Regions from separate parts of the Homo sapiens genome. Here region 1 is linked to region 2. Evidence: promoter capture Hi-C in 16 types of primary human blood cells and fetal thymus (Javierre and others, 2016). All regions are on one chromosome and are shown on one strand. The core of a region is centred on a gene start or on the middle of the fragment in contact, and the rest is flanking DNA. Distances in the headings are between cores, read along the strand shown.

The links. The method cuts DNA at HindIII sites, captures the fragments that hold promoters and counts their contacts. A CHiCAGO score of 5 or more calls a contact.
Region 1: a fragment that was not itself captured here is called in contact with the fragment with the promoter of IL18BP in region 2 in 2 of 17 cell types (endothelial precursors and megakaryocytes); the score reaches 5.4 in endothelial precursors.

What each region holds. Positions count from the first base shown.
Region 1 is chr11:72,154,993-72,157,798 of GRCh38, reverse strand. No RefSeq gene overlaps it. Among named protein-coding and RNA genes, the nearest start is that of FOLR3, 21 kb to the right of the region's middle. The HindIII fragment of the contact is 1,577 bases long and covers 732-2,308 here.
Region 2 is chr11:71,997,544-72,000,243 of GRCh38, reverse strand. It overlaps IL18BP (interleukin 18 binding protein), which reads right to left and starts at 1,335. Exons shown (of 6, transcript NM_001039660.2): 1 at 1,225-1,335; 2 at 232-317. The coding sequence starts at 259. RNF121 (ring finger protein 121) reads right to left here. Exons shown (of 9, transcript NM_018320.5): 9 at 2,647-2,700. The HindIII fragment of the contact is 5,155 bases long and covers 1,268-2,700 here.

The DNA.
Region 1 (2,806 bases), core at 271-2,770, 160 kb before region 2:
AGTAGCAGGGCCATTTCAAGATATGGCAAAGAAACATGTTTTGAGGTAAAAATATTAAAATATTTTGCTTTTCTTCCTTGTCTCGTCATGTTATGCCAGAGTCAGGTTGGAAAGTAAGTCATGATATATAGGGTTAAATAAAACCCATCTGATGAGAATTTATGATTTGTAGGGCATGACTCCCCAGACCCCTTAGATAGGAATTTTGGCAAGATAAAAAAAAATCATTGGATTTAGTCCTCGTTGAGGTGATAACCATTCGGAGGTGAGAAAGTAAGTTAAATTGTAACCCCAGAAGAGTTCCGATTACATAAACACTCAATACATACTTATTGAATGAATGAAAGCCCACGGCCTAGAATTTGGTATAAAGCTTGAGAAAAGAAAAATAGCTCAGAGCAGTCTCATGATGTGAGACATGCCCAATTTATCAGGCCCAGAAAGGCATGAGTATGGAACTTCAGTCACACCCTCCCCACCCATGCCCAGAGACAATTGTTCCAAGGCGTTTTGTCCCTGACTAGCTGCCTCACCCGTTATCTGTTCCTGGAATTTGTGATACAAAAAACAATGTATAGCCAATGAATTGCTTATGTTATTTTATTTTAAATTCTTGATAAACAACTTAGGAACTATTCTGTTTCCTTAAAAACTCACTTGTAACTGCTGTGAATCGAAGTGTATATTCAGGACAACTTGAATCTATGCTTCTGTGTAGCTATCCTCAAGCTTTCTGGATCTCGTTACTTAAGGCTGACAAGCTAAACATTAAAATGTGCACTTAAAAAATATATAAAAGCCCAGGCACAGTGGTTTACACCTATAATCCCAGTACTTTGGAGGCCAAGGTGGGAGGATCACTTGAGTGCAGGAGTTTGAGGTCAACTGGGACAACATAGTGAGACCTCATGTCTAAAAAGAGATAAAAATAAAAAAAAATAAAAATATAAAAAATAAAAGAATAAGTTAAAGTCAGAGCTGCTCAAGGTATACAGGTTATTTACCTCTTGTTAGTCTGCACTTGGCAGCTACAGGCTCACTGATTCAAAACAAGTGCAAACAGGGCAGTGACTGCTATCTGCTAATGGAGTCAAAACGAATATAAATAGAAATCCATATTACAAATTACTTTTCCTCTGTTTCTTCTTTAGTTATATTTGAATATGGATTTTTAAAATAACTGTTTAGCTAAGTTCAGGATATTAAAGGGGTTGTAGCCAAATAATTGTTATAGGCAGACCTCATGTCCAGTGGGATTGAGAGACACAGACTGAAGGTTTGCTAGATGCATGAACCAAGATGCTTCAGGCCGGATGTGGTGGCTCACATTTGTAATCCCAGCACTTTGGGAGGCCAAGGTGGAAGGATCGCTTGAGCCCAGGATTTGGAGACCAGCCTGGGCAACATAACAAGACCTCTCTCAAAGAAAAAAAAAATGCTTCACACCCAGCCTCATAACTGAGAGACTCTCCTTTCTTGAGCTGTTTAGGGCTGGCAGAAAAGAAGCCACTATGAACAGTGTGCAGTTTCTTCTTTCAGATCTATGGAGGAGTCATTCCCAGTCTAAATCCCTAAATCAAGCAACCCCAGGATGGGTCTCTCCAACTTCATTTCCCAGGCTCTCCTCTGGGCCTGCTTCCTTATTTGTGTAATGCGGAAACTCAACAACCAAGAAAGTGAGTTGTTGGCATTGTACCGACATTTGACACACAGTGTCTGTGAAATAAGTAGTCACATATCATATTAATACAAACTGAAGGGCTCCTCTGGTGGGTCTGTCAGAGGCGTTTCAACCAAAGCAACCCCATCTTGAATAGGGGCTGGGTAAAATGAAGCTGAAGCCTACTGGGCTGCATTCCCAGGAGGTGTGGCATTCCAAGTGACAGGATGAGCTAGGAGGTGAGCACAAGATAACAGGTCACAAAGACCTTGCTGATAAAACAGCCTGTGGTAAAGAAGCCAGCCCAAACCCACCAAAACCAAGATGGCGACCAAAGTGACCTCTGGTCATCCTCATCACTCATTATATGCTAATTATAATGTATTAGCATGCTAAAAGACACTCCCACCAGTGCCGTGATTACAGATGCCATGGCAACATCAGGAAGTTACCCTAAATGGTCTAAAAAGGAGAGGAACCCTCAGTTACGGGAATTGGCCACCCCTTCCTTGGAAAACTCATTAATAATCCACCCCTTCTTTAGCATATAATCAAGAAGTAACAATAAGTATCCTTAGTGGAGCAGCTCAAGCCACTGCCCTGCCTATGGAGTAGCCATTCTGTATTCCTTTACCTCCTTAATAAGCTTGCTTTCACTTTACTCTATGGACTCACCCCAAATTCTTTCTTATACAAGATCCAAGAACCTTCTCTTGGGGTCTGGATCTGGATCCCTTTCTGGTAACATCTTCCTGTCGAACCCTGAGGAGACACCCTACCCAAAGGAAATAGACTGCAGCACCAATTGGCTATCTAGGGTAAGTGGCGGGGTACCCAGGTAAAGGATGGAATTGGGTTAGAGGCTCAACTTAGGGGAGTTAAAGTCTCTCCTAAGACAGAGTGGGTTAAAGGCCCCTCTTAATAAAAGGCAAGGACACTTGACTGAACTTTGGTTTGAGGCCCAACTCAGGAGTGTTAGAGTCCCTTCTAAGATTTAGGGAGTTAGAAGCCCCTCTCAGAGTAAAGTTCCTCTTGGCTAAGAACGGATTTAGCACCATGGGATATTAATTGCTATTCTCTTTGGATTAATCTACCTTGAAATCTTTGCTGATGGCTGTGGGTGACAGAATTGTGTATGTACAGGAT
Region 2 (2,700 bases), core at 86-2,585:
AGCGGGAAGAGGGACCCCTCAGCACCCACCCCTTAGCCCTTTATTGAACAGAGTACAGAGAAGCTTTAGACTGGAGCCAGAGCTACAATATCTGCCCAGGTTCTTAAAGCAACAGCACCAGGTGCGCTGGGTGGTTTGCCTTGGAGTGAAGGCTCCGGGTTAGCCCATTGCTCCATTCTGTTCATAGACCTCACCCTACCCCGCCTGCCCATGCGTAGCCCCAAGGCCTACCTGGTGTCCAGTTGTGTCTCATGGTCATGATGCATGCGTCAGGAGCTGGTGAGCCTGGCTCTTTATCTGTGACAACGTCCTCTTCTCTGGTGAAAGGTGGGGGAGGAGAATGGTAAACCACTCCCGCTTTTTCTCAGTAGCTGGCTTTTCCTCAGTAGCTGGCTTCTCCTCCCGTAGCATAGCCTGGAGCTCTTTCAGCACTTAGAAACAGAGCTGGGGGGGTCAAGTGACAATCCTTCCCCACCCCAGCTCTCATGACCACAAATGGTTGTAAGATGCTTACCTAGTCCAATCTTACCCCTTCATTAGGGAAGGCAAAATTGAGACCCAAAGAGAGAATATGGACTCACCCAGTCACACAGGGAGGCAGTGCTCTCTTCAGCACCAGAGCTGCTTCTGGGAAGGGCAGGATGCCGAGCAATCCTTCTGGGAAAGCACTGCCCCGACCCTCTATTTCACTTTCACTTTTTAACCAGGGAATCTTGAGCAGCTGTGACACCTCTGCTTTAGCCAAAGTTCAGTGGCCAGAAACCTTCAGCTCCTGGGACTCCTACTCTCCAGAGGATACCAGACTGGGATCTCTAATCTACCCCCATGCCACCCCCAGGGTCACCTAGGGTATGAACTAGATGAGTCTCTCACAGATCAATTCTGTCCCGCCCAAGTGTCAGGACTTTGGTGTCCGCCTCCCCTCTTCACAGCCAGGTCTTTGTTTCCATATGAACAGGCATCTGCTTCCTCCTTCACCTTCACACTGACATTCAAGGGGACAACTTTCCTAGGCACTGGGGAACCCCAAGTTGGACCACTTCAGGCTCAATGCCATACCAGTCCGTCCACATCCTGGCCTTTCCCAGGCTACCCACTCCCCCAGCCACCAGCCCCAAGGTCGGCTACATCTCCCAGCACCCACCATCACACCCTCTGTCTCTCATCCTAGCCCCTCTGGCCAGAGCCACAGGTCTAGGTTCACTAGTAGTCCCAGACTCCTACCTGGCTCCTAAGAGGTCCTGAAGAGCCTTCCTTTCCAGAAGCTTCCCTCTAGGAGCTCCAAGACTCAAGTTAGCTGTGTCTAGCTGCGTGTGAACCCACCACAGGAAATACACCGAGAGCACTTCCTCCTTGTCTGTAGAACTCTCACGGCCAACCCAGGAACTGGCACACAAGCTCGAGAGCCAACCCTAACAGGAGGGAAGGGCAGGCACTTCCCGGGGAAGAGGCGGACTGGCTCAACACTGGCTCTGGCAACAGAGTCTACATCAGAATATGAATCTTGTCACTGATGGGACAAATGGCGCTGGGGCTGCGGGAGGGCCAGGATTCAGGGTGAGGCGTGTGAGGAACCTAGGATGCTAAATCTAAGGAGGTTTTCTCTCAGGGTCATGCAGTTATCCATGGAGGCAGAAAGACCAGGGCTGGGTGATCCAATGCATGCATATATTAAGTGTGGACAGGAGCTGCATGTCTGAGGTTTGTGACTCCTGTGATTGGGAGGGTGCAACGGCTGGTGACAGAGCCAGGGAGGCCCACAGATGGAACTGGGTTTGGTGGATGCATCAGGAACACAGTCAGCTGTGATCTCAAACTTCTTGTAGAAAAACCAGATTCATATTCCTAATTTAGACATAGGATACTACAAGTCACATCCTTCTTCTCTAGGTGTCTAGTTCATGTTTTTCCTCCTCTCAATTCCTCCCCCTACCTCCTGCCCCAGGGGCTTCTAGCATGTAAGATGCAGGAGAAATTCCTCCCAAGAACACCAGCATCTCCAGGAGTTAGGTCAGGAGGCAAGGCTGCCTGGGGTTTCTGAGAGAGACAGTCCAGTGGGGGATGGTAGGGAAAGATGACAGGACTCTGTCTTAGTGGAACCGAGACCAGAGTCAGGCCAAGGGGGGAGGTCAAGGGACTCAGAACTGTTACACATGAAAAGAGCTTTGGACAGCCTGGCCTCGGCTTCTCACCTGAGCCTGACAGGGGGGTGGGGGGAAAAAGTAAAAGGAAGGGTGATCCCTAGGTCCTCTGACCAGCCCCATTCCCCTCTCTGAGGAGGGGAACAGCCCCACAGGTGGCATAAGCAGCAGGGTACCATGGGAAGCCACAGCTGGGGAAGAGAAGCCGAGCCTGAGTGTGGTCCTCAGGAAGGCAGGTGGTGGCGGGACACTGTCCTCAGGCAGTGAGAACATAGAGCAACCTCAGTCTGAAGGCAGGCCCAATGATGCCCCAGGCCCCCAGGCCACAGGACAGGAGCCTGGCATTCCACCACTCCTAGGGATGTCAGCAGGGGAACAGCTGGGAACAGCAGAAAGGCAGGCCCAACCACCCCCAGACCCTCAGGTCTCCGATGGGGGTTAACAAAGGCAAGACACCCCTGGGGACCCCAGGGAAAGAGGTGGGAAGAAGAAAGCAAGATAAATGTTCAGCTTTCCAACCCAGCTCATGGAGCTTTATTCAGACGGGAGTGACAACATC